Regions from separate parts of the Homo sapiens genome. Here region 2 is linked to region 1. Evidence: promoter capture Hi-C in human tissues and cell types (Jung and others, 2019). All regions are on one chromosome and are shown on one strand. Each heading gives the region's core, a stretch centred on a gene start or on the middle of the fragment in contact. The rest is flanking DNA. Distances are from core to core; before and after follow the strand shown.

The links. The method cuts DNA at HindIII sites, captures the fragments that hold promoters and counts their contacts. A contact is called where the count stands out against the background at its distance.
Region 2: a fragment that was not itself captured here is called in contact with the fragment with the promoter of PDZRN3 in region 1 in 3 of the 25 tissues and cell types used here (aorta, bladder and mesendoderm cells).

The regions. Positions count from the first base shown.
Region 1 is chr3:73,622,212-73,627,622 of GRCh38, reverse strand. It overlaps PDZRN3 (PDZ domain containing ring finger 3), which reads left to right and starts at 2,682. Exons shown (of 10, transcript NM_015009.3): 1 at 2,682-3,520. The coding sequence starts at 2,798. PDZRN3-AS1 (PDZRN3 antisense RNA 1) reads right to left here and starts at 4,055. Exons shown (of 2, transcript NR_046681.1): 1 at 3,658-4,055; 2 at 1-2,211. RefSeq lists an enhancer at 4,749-5,263. The HindIII fragment of the contact is 5,146 bases long and covers 502-5,411 here.
Region 2 is chr3:73,746,577-73,751,987 of GRCh38, reverse strand. No RefSeq gene overlaps it. Among named protein-coding and RNA genes, the nearest start is that of LINC02005, 60 kb to the left of the region's middle. The HindIII fragment of the contact is 6,509 bases long and covers 1-5,411 here.

The DNA of each region.
Region 1 (5,411 bases), core at 1,433-3,932:
TTTTATTCATGTTTATTGGTATGGTGCCTTGAGTTTTCGATTTATAATAACATCCCTCTCTCACTGTGCAGCATTCACCAGGTGGTTCCACAGCCAGCAGAAAATGTGGGCTGACAGCATTGCCTGACTTCAGTAATGAGCAGAAAGCTTCCTTAAAACTGTGGTTCTCAACCTGGTTGTCACAACAAGGGGTTGTTACTATGTCTATTGGATAGTGGCCAGAGATGCTCCTAAATATCCTGCAATGCAGACGATAACCAACCCCCCACCCCCACACACACCACAACAAATAATTATTTGAATGAAAATGTCAGTAGTACCAAGGTTGAGTAACTCTGCCCTCAACTCCTTTTTCCTAATATTTTTGGCTCTCGTTTCTCCTGTTAAGTTTGGTGACTGAAATAATAGTCTTGCCAGCTCTGACATTGTAGGATTTTTTTTCTAACCTCCAAGAATTTTGATACTAAAATTAACCATTGAGGAGTGGCACAGACTTTCCTTTTGCCTAAAGAGGCCAATCCACAGTAGGCTATGGCTTCTCTGTGGCCTCAGCTGTAGCATTTCAGCAACAACCTCTCAATCTGCCATCTGGGAGACCACCCGAGGGGTGGTAGAACATCTCCAAAAAAGTGTACACCCCAAGTAAGCACTAATTTACATTTATGGTGTAGGACAGAACTTCTCTGTTTCTCAAAACCAGTTTGGTTTGAAGATTATCACCCTGTTGACACTAGCTCATTCTGTGAAACTGACAAGCCCACACACCTTTGGTGAAAGAATTTGTTTCCTACCCATTATCTGAGAGCCCATGAGCAGTTTAATGAATATACTGATGGAGGATTCCCTGGCACAAGCTTATCTGAACAAAGGCCAATAATATTCCACCCCATGCAGAATCCTATCAAAGCAATGCATTAATTGATTAAAGCAATTAAAAGAAAGTCTCCACCTCAAATAGGCAACAAATGCCACCAAAACTGATTAAAGAACACTGTCCAGTGACCTCAACCATGCACTGAAAAATCTAGTGAGTGACAACTTTTTAAAGGTCAGTGTGAAACAAGTAATCCTTATGAACATCAAGGCAATTCTTTCACTCTGATGAAGCAGTTAAATAGTGAAGGTCATGGGGCTTTAGCAGCCACATAAAAGAAAGAAGGAAAGCAATTAGACAAAATGGATGCTGTAATCCCACTTTCCAGGCCCCAGAGTCTCGCTGAATACAGAGCTCCTGCTTTACTGTTCAGAACTCTCCCGCTTCACTGTTCAGAAACTGGAAGCAGATTCCAAATGAGAATTCCATAGCTTGATTCCACTCTCACCAAAAGCTGACTGCGTGTTTCTTAGGAATGTCTATAGCCTTGGGAGGTAAAAATAAAATAAAATAAAATCAATGGATGATGCTATGAACTTTACACCCAGTTTGGAATTCCAAAAATATTCCTCCATTGCTCAGGACTGTTGCTGAATCCTACCCAGCCAGGTTTGCTGTACTGCAGGGAATGAATGTCCAGATCTATGGATCGCCAGGGTTTTCCAATCAAGTGGGAATCCAAGGACCAGCATGGACTAGCAGCATTGGCATCACTTGGAAGTGCTTTCAGTATGGAGATTCTCAGAACCCGCCCCAGACCCACTGTATCAGAACCGCAACCACATTAAAATGTGAGAAACACTGACCTACAGGACCCTACAGGGCACTTTTGTTTTGTTTTGTTTTCTGTTTTGTTTTTATCCTTCTTCTAGCCTGAGTTTCCTCAATGGAAAGATGACAGAGTGTACACACAAAACAAACCAAAACTGAAGGAGGGCAGTTGTTGACATGATCATGGGGGTGATGAGTCTTCTCCCAGTTCTAACTTCTGCAGTCAGCATCGCTTCTTTTGTAATCACGGGAAAATAATTTTCAAATGGAGCTAACCCTCTCACAACATTGTACTAATGATCTTTAAAGCGACGGATTTAGAAGCGCTCAGCACCACGCTTGCCACACTGCAGGGCAGACACTTCAGAGGTGTTAGGTGAAGTGGATGGAGCCAGCACGCTGGCCTCTCCCACTCCGACAGCTGGCGAGCAGCTCTTGTCCACCAAAACTTCCCCGGGTAGATTCACCCACCGGTCCTGGAAACCTGCTAAATCCTGAAGGTTCACAGAACCTCTGGTCAGAACTGAAGTTGCAGCCGGAGCTTCCCGCAGGCTCTGTAACTTTCCCTGGAATGAAATAAATAAATAAAGACCGTAAGTGCTGAGATAGCGGGCCCCAAGATATTTTTAGTCCTCTGCAATCAGCCACTAGAGGAAGGGGGAGGGAGAAGGGAGTAAAAAAGTTTTGATCCGTTCGGGAAGGGGCTCGAAGAGAACCCTTGGGAGAAAGCAGTAGCCTCAGCTCCAAACTCAGCGAGCTTTTCTCGGCTGGCGTTTTGTCTCCTATAGCGTAGACTGTAAGAGAACAGAAAGGAGTTTCCCGAGAAGATTCAGGCTGGCGTCCTGGGCTGGCCCGTCCCTTCTGGCGAGCCTCAGTGTCCTCCCACGCGCTTCTGCCTTCCAGCCTCCTCCCTTTTTCGGGGGGCTGGCGGGAGGCATCCAAGGCACGATGTATGTGCGCTCGCGCTCGCGCAAATACGGCCGGAGGAGTCCTGTTCCTCGGGCATTTTCCGAGGAAGTCTGGATCAATTAGGCTCAGTCCGGGGAGAGCCAGCGAGCGCGCGGGCGGCGTAGCCGGCCTGTCTGGGCCGCCTCGTGGGGAGGGAGGGGGCGCCCGGCCGCCCGGCGGCGACCCCGGGGCCTGGCCGCCACCATGGGCTTCGAGCTGGACCGCTTCGACGGCGACGTGGACCCGGACCTGAAGTGCGCGCTGTGCCACAAGGTCCTGGAGGACCCGCTGACCACGCCGTGCGGCCACGTCTTCTGCGCCGGCTGCGTGCTGCCCTGGGTGGTGCAGGAGGGCAGCTGCCCGGCGCGCTGCCGCGGTCGCCTGTCGGCCAAAGAGCTCAACCACGTCCTGCCGCTCAAGCGCCTTATCCTCAAGCTGGACATCAAGTGCGCGTACGCGACGCGCGGCTGCGGCCGGGTGGTCAAGCTGCAGCAGCTGCCGGAGCACCTCGAGCGCTGCGACTTCGCGCCCGCGCGCTGTCGCCACGCGGGTTGCGGCCAGGTGCTGCTGCGGCGCGACGTGGAGGCGCACATGCGCGACGCCTGCGACGCGCGGCCAGTGGGCCGCTGCCAGGAGGGCTGCGGGCTACCCTTGACGCACGGCGAGCAGCGCGCGGGCGGCCACTGCTGCGCGCGAGCGCTGCGGGCGCACAACGGCGCGCTCCAGGCCCGCCTGGGCGCGCTGCACAAGGCGCTCAAGAAGGAGGCGCTGCGCGCTGGGAAGCGCGAGAAGTCGCTGGTGGCCCAGCTGGCCGCGGCGCAGCTTGAGCTGCAGATGACCGCGCTGCGCTACCAGAAGAAATTCACCGAATACAGCGCGCGCCTCGACTCGCTCAGCCGCTGCGTGGCCGCGCCGCCCGGCGGCAAGGTAGGCGCCTGCTGCCCGCCCCGACCTCCAGCCAGGATCCCTGGGGACCCAGGGCCCCGCCCCATCCCTTTGGGTACAGGGATGCCCCGAGCTTCCCGGGAACATCCTTGCTTCCTCCCTCTTCTTCCACTGCTTACCAGCTGTATCACTACTTGCAGGTCGCTGAACCTGCCTGAGGTGGAACACTGTGGTCCTTTATAGTCTAGACGTAACCGGTAAAGTATAGCTGTACAGCTTCAGGGATTCTGGAAGGACGAAAAAGAATTCACAAGCAAGTGTAGGATAAGAATGAAGAATGCAGCTCCAGAGTCAAAACTGCGTTCAAAGGCTTTGCTGCTCAGACCAGCTAGGGGATCTCGGGCAAGTTGCTTACCCTCTAGAGGTCAGAAACCTATAGACTGACACTTAGGAGAGGAGAGATGGACACATTGGGTGAATTGTATCCGTGCATCCTCTAGGATTCCAGAAAAAAAAATAAAGGGAACCCACAGCCAGTGTAGATTAAGTTAAGAAGGATATCAGAAGAGAGGCCTCTGGGGTAAAAGCTGGATGCAAGCGTGGGCTTTGCAGCCAACTAGCTGGCTGACCTTGAGCAAGCTGCTTAACCTCTCTAAAGTTGGAAACTATGGTCCCTAGAGACGTGGTATACAGAGTAAAAACACAGCCAGGCACCCCTGAGGTATTCATCCAGGGATTTCAGAAAGAATTAAAGGAGCACTCTGCCCCCAACAAGTATAAAGTAATAATTAAGTGTGAGTCCTCTGGAGTTAAAACTGTTTTCAAATCTGGGCTTTTTGCTGACCAGCTGGGTGAGCTTCTGGCTTAATTCCCAGATCCCTCAGTTTCCCTCAGTGCGAAAGGTTTTTGTCAGGCTTCAGGGAGAGAGTTTAGTAGAAGGGCCTCGTACTGTGCCTGGCAGAGAGTAAATAAATGCTCAACAAGTGTTACCTAGAATTATTTTTAACATCTCCACCTGAGCGGTCCCCTTGAGCGAGGGTTTACTTTGCTCCAGGCTGGGTGCTGCATTCTTCCCAGTCATTTCCTTTTTAATCAAGTGAGGTTGGTGTGACCCTTCCCACTTAGTAGATGAAAAAACTGAGGCTCATTAAGGGGCAGTTTCATGCCTGGGTCACAGCTTTTGGGTGCAAAGCTGCATGTTGAACCTTTGCGTGCCCATCTTTCCAGCCCACGTTCTATAAACTATCATGTTGCTCCTCAGTGCAACCACAAGGACCATTTATTGAGTGTTTATTAAGTGCCACCAACAATAGGAAGTACTTTACATGCATTACCTATGTTGTCCTTTGAGATGAGGGAACAGACTCAGAGAAGTTATATAACTTGTCCAAAATTAAGTAGTGACTCAGGGAGCAGAGCCGGACTCAGATTCTACCTCAGAGTTCTCAGTTTTGGGGCATATTGGCATTTTGGGCCCCATAACTCTTAGTTGGGAGGGGAGGTACTGTGCTGTGCATTGTAGGATGTTTAGCAGCATTCTTGGCCTCCCTCCCAAGTCGTGACAATCCAAATATTGTCAAGTGTCCTCTGGAGGGGCAAAGTCGCCCAGGTTGAGAACCACTGGTTTCCCTGATTGCAGAAGCCACATTTTCAACAGCTGGGTACTTCTGCCTTCCTGGGGAGGGGCCTGGGCCTGCTGCCACCGCTCTGGTTGCCTGCTCCAGATGGTGTGGCAGAAAGGGGAAAATATTTGCCCGAGGCTCCCCCAAGGGCCTGTGTCTGCTTTGCCTCTCTCTGCCCTCTCCCAGCCCCCTTTCCTTACGTGCACACCAGGCCTGCAAGTTTTCCGACCTGGCCCCCCTTCCTGGCCCCTGGCCTGTCTGTCAGCTGCAGTCTCAGCAGCTGGCCAGCTCTGGGCGAAGGGCAAATATTT
Region 2 (5,411 bases), core at 1,295-3,794, 120 kb before region 1:
GACTAGGAGTCTGGGAAACCCCTCCAAAATTGTGAAGACTGAACTAAGGCCTGAATGAAAAGAGATGCGAAGCATGTGAAAATCTTGGGGTAAAATGTTCAGGCAGAGGGACAAGTGTAAAAGCTGTGAGCTTGGCATTTCTGTTTGTGGACAGAAAGAATGCTGATGTGACTTGAGCACTGTGAGAAGCAGGCATAGAAGAATGAAGAGAGGGTGGTCTGGTGGCAGCATTATTACTTCTGTACAAGTCGCAGGTTTTCACCTGACTCGAGGAGTATGTTTGCATTTTGCTCTGCTAACTTCGTTCTCAAATTTGCCAGTCCATTGCATCGAACAGAGAGAGTGTTAATTTATTCTCCCATAGCCTAAAAGACCCCCTGTGTTATTCACAAAGGCACAGACTGTTTCCAAGAGGTATGCAGAACCTGCAAATCAAGCAGCTTGGAAATTTCTGGAGGGAAGTTCACATACATGCGAGTGAAGGCAAAGTGGAAACATCTTTATTTTCCTTCTCCAAAGCTGAAATGAACATTATAATTGTAAGATACCCAGTGACTAATAATTCAATTCCGTGTAGTCTTTCATGCTTTAGGCAGAGGCCTAAACATCTGATTATCTGTGCTGGCTCTTCTGTGAGATACAGTGGCTTGTAATAGAGAGAATATGCTGTGTGGAATTATGTGCCATGATTCACTTCTCAGGTCTGTAACTTAATCACTGTGTGACCTAAACAATTATCTTACCCTCTCTGGGCAGAGCCTCTATTTCTTCTTCATATGTAAAATAGGGACAATAATATTTATGCTAGAATATTATGTTAGGATTAGATAGGAGGAGGAGCACTAAACACGGTCCTAGCCGTGAGTAGGGACACTCAGTGGATATCAACATCTACAGAATCAATGGAATACAGTTGAACTCAGCAGTCAGCAAATTGCTTCCCATGAGCCACATCCTCACTCCTTCCTGTGTTTGTAAATAAAGTTTTATTGGAACATAGCCACATCCATTTGTTTCCATATTACCATGGCTGCTTCCACACTACAACAGCAGAGGTGAAGAGTTGCAACACAGACTGTATCACCTGCAAAGCCTAAAATATTTACTATCTGGTTCTTCACAGAGAAAGTTTGCCAACCCATACTCTTAAATCCAAATATTACTGCTCCTTCCAATACTTCAAAATGCCTGAAATTTCACTCCCTGTCATAAAATTCTCTTGTATTCCCCACTGTGACTTGCACATAGAAGGCAGTTACTACATAGCGATTTAATTGTATTAAATTAAATGGAATTGAATTAAATGTATCTATTTAATATGAATTACTTTGGGGCTGTTGCTGATGCTCAGCTTTTTATTTTCCCAGAAAGCCCTTGCCTCAGTTACATGTTCATTTTCTTCAAATCAGTTTTGGCTCCTACAATATCTGTGCATGGCTGACAGATATTACAGGTATGCAGTCCCCCAGATAACCCTTCCCCTTTATGGTATCTAATATCCATGGGTCCAGCAGACCCTGCCAACCAGCTGATGCTTGAGCATTCTATCTTAATGCTCTCATCCCTAAAGGTGTCAAGCAGAAAGGTTAAGTGACTTGCCCAAGGTCAGAGCAGGAATACGTCAGAGTGAGGGCTGGAGGACCACTTAATCTGACCCCCAAGGTGTACCTGGGGTCAGTACCCTTTGGTATATCCCATTTTTAACCATTCTACAAATATGGCTTTGTTTGCCATGTGGGGACAAGCATTGGAAGGGGTCACGCATTGGGTGGGGTTACTGAGACTTTCTAACTGGCCCCAAGAAGGAATTGTAAATTCCTGGACTATAGGGGTCAGAAGATGGGATCTAAGTAAAGCAGCCAGGACCAGGATACCCTACACAGGTGTCCCCACTCTGGCTTCATTTCCTGCCTTGCTAGCCCCGCTCACTCCAGTCCAGACACACTGGTCTATGTACTGTTTCTCAGTCCCCCTCAGGCCTTTGCTCCAGCTGTTCTCCTGCCAGGAGCCCCCTTCCCTGAGATAGCCACAACTTTTTACTCAGGTTTCATCCTCTCAATAAGTCCTACCCTGACCACCAATTAAATACTGCAACCTACAACCCCACGGACATTCCTGATGGATCCCCTCTATCCTGCTCTACTTTCTCCGTCAAATGTATGACCTTCTACCATACTCTGTTCCCTCCATACATGTAAGCTTCACAAAAGCAAGGATGGTGATATGCTTTGTTCACTGATATATTCCAATCAAGCCAAGAACTTACTGACTGACTTATTTATTTGTTTACTTATTTATCAAGGGCACACAGCACTTATTCTGTGCCTGATGTTATTCTAACCTCTTTAGAAAGAATCAACTCCTTTAATGGTAGGTACTCAATAAATATTTGTAGAATGGTTAAAAATGGGATATACTAAGGGGTACTGACCTCAGGCACCCCTTGGGGGTCAGATTAAGTGGTCCTCCAGCCCTTACTCTGACATATTCCTGCTGTGTGAACTTGGGCAAGTCACTTAACCTTTCTGAACTTTCTTTTTCTCCCCTGAGAAAATAGGAATGAGAATTCTCATGTATAAATTTCAGGTAGGATTAAAGAAGATATTGTTTATAAGGTCTTGTTATAGTTTGCTCCACAGAGAAAGAGCTAATGGTGGTAACAAAGTGATGGTGATGGGGCTGTGACACTAGGCAGAGTCTTTAAGGTACCAGGTTGACCATGATAACTTCCTGTTTCGATGGATCGCTCTCTTTCTCTTTATTTACAGGGCAAAAGAGAGATAAGAGGCCTATTAGAGTTGTCCATAAGATATCAGTTGTTTGAGACAAATTAAGGAAGGAACCAGAATAAGTTTCTTTAGCTAAGTTCCCTTAAGATTAAGAGGAGAATTTTTTTTGAATTTCAGTTCTTGTGCGTTCTTTTTAAACTTTCAATGTAAACACAAGGATGGATGACTTAAATATAAAAAGGGATTTATTTAGTCATGCAACAAACATTTATTGCGTTTCTTGAATACCTGATGTGTATTAAACCTGTGTGTCAGGAGCAGAGGACACGCAGTGATCAATATGGTTGGGGTAACCACTAATACACAGCGTTCTCACTCCCACAGTGGTGATGGGTGGGTTAACAATGTGACAAATGCCAGGATGGCGGAACACAGAGCCACAAGTACACAGAGAAATTACATTATAATGACTAAGGCTATTGACTTTACCATCTTTCAAGTACTGAGTATTATGGTAAACATTTACATATTAATATTTCATTTAATATTTCTGCCATATCTGTGAGGTAGTGTCTATCAGTATCCACTTAGTTTAAAGAAGTTAAATTGCCCAAGATCAGAGAGTTTATAAGAGATGTAGGTGAAATTAAATCTACATCCCCAACCCTTAAGCCCAAGCATGGATTTGTAGTTGGCTGACACTAGCTCTCCTAACTTAGCTGATGGTCACTTTCTGAGTTTCTTGCCTTTTTAGAATTTGTTTTATCATCTGTGGAGATAGTATCTACTACCTAAGATCATAAAAAGAATTAATAAGATAATAAATAGCAATCAGCCAAGACCTATCTCACAGTACTCAATAAATGTTAGTTCTCACACCTCTTTCTTCTTCTTAGATAACGTTATGATTATAGAGTTCTAGGTGGATGAATAAACATATTTACCAAATAACTGTATTGATAATAACTAACATCAATCAAACACTTACTATGTGCTAGGAGCTGTGCTAAGCTCTCTTCATGGATAAACTCATTACATCAACACCATAACCCTATGAGCAGGTACTGTTATTATCTCTTCTTTCTACAAAGGAGACAGAGCCACAGAGGTGTTAACTGCATTGCCCCAACGTCGCAGAGTTCATACATGGTGGACCAGGAGTCAATCCCTGGTGCCCTCGTTCCAGAGTTTACTCTTCACCACTTGCTGTCTACAGGCCATCATAACAAGGACTGTAGATGTCCTTGGAGGAAGTTGCTGGTAGTGGTTGTGCCATAGTTGGTGTGATACAAAAAACCCAAGTACTTTATTTGTTCTCAAAATAATGAAATACTATTTACACACTTATTTGCAAAGCACATTTTTCTGTCACCTACAGTTTCACGTGGCTGATGAATGCATCCATTTTCCTCTTTTAGCATCAGTCAATGCCATAAAAAAGTCTGCATTATCTTAGAATGTGCTCCTGCTTCTCACTTGTCTTGCTTAATATTAGTGCATAATAGTGCATAATCAAGTACAGTAAATGGCCCCCTGGTTAGTTTTAATGACCTTATAGCACCTACCATGATTTGCGATAGAGCTCACAATTTAATTTGAGGATGAAAGATTGAAAAATCTTTCTCCATATTGCTACTTTCCAAAACTGCTCAGATGTTTATATTTTATTAACTAAAAGTCATGCCAACTTTCTCAATGACTCTATTCAACTCAAAGCATGCGGTACAAATTGTAAAAAATTCTTTTTTTTTTTTTTTTTTTAAGGCATGCTCTCTCTGTTGCCCAGGCTGGAGTGCAGTGGAATGATCACAGTTCACTGCAGCCTAATCTCCGGTGCTCAAGTGATCCTCCCGTGTGCACTACCAAGCCCAGTTAATTTTTTTTTTTTTTTTTTTTTTTTTTTTTTTTTTTTTTTTTTGTAGAGACGGGGTCTTGCTCTAGGTTGCCCAGGCAGTTTTCAAACTCCTGGACTCAAATGATCTTCCCACCTCGGCATCCCAAACTGCTGGGATTACAGGCGTGAGCCACCATGCTCAGCTTTGTAGAAAATACTTTCTATTCTTTCACAGAATTATCTAAAGAAGACTTGAAGGCAAATAAGGAGAGGAAAAGGGGTAATTGTTTCTTTGTGCTCCTTTTCAAAGCTGCAAACTCAGCCAGAGATCCCAAAACTTGAGTCTTACCTCATCTGGATGCTGCTTTGCAAAAGAATTGGTCCTTTTTCAGGCAGTAAAATATTTGCAAACTTTTCCTAATGAGTGTGATTTGCAAACTGTAATTTCAGTGCAGCTACATTGCCAGGGCAGGTTTGGACAAAAATATGCGAACAATAAAGCGGGACAGGGCAAGCAGAGTTAGGTCATAAAACGCATGTCCCCTGTGCGTTGTGAGGCAAGACGCCAACGGCCTTGTGCCCTCAGCCACCTGTGTACGATTCTAGCTGATCATCTGTGACTCACTGGAGGCTGATTAGATTGTTTCTGTCCTGAGGCCATCTTATTATAACGTTGGGTTGTGAATTTCATTAAGTTTTACAATCCTCCACACGTGTGTTTATAACAAGAGTTATCTCCCCTTGTGGGATGACATTTGTTTTTATAAAACCAAAATTAAATCAAAATCTAAGCTTGCAAAGGTTTTTTAAAAGTGTGTGGAAAACAATAGGCAGAAAATAAATTGTCA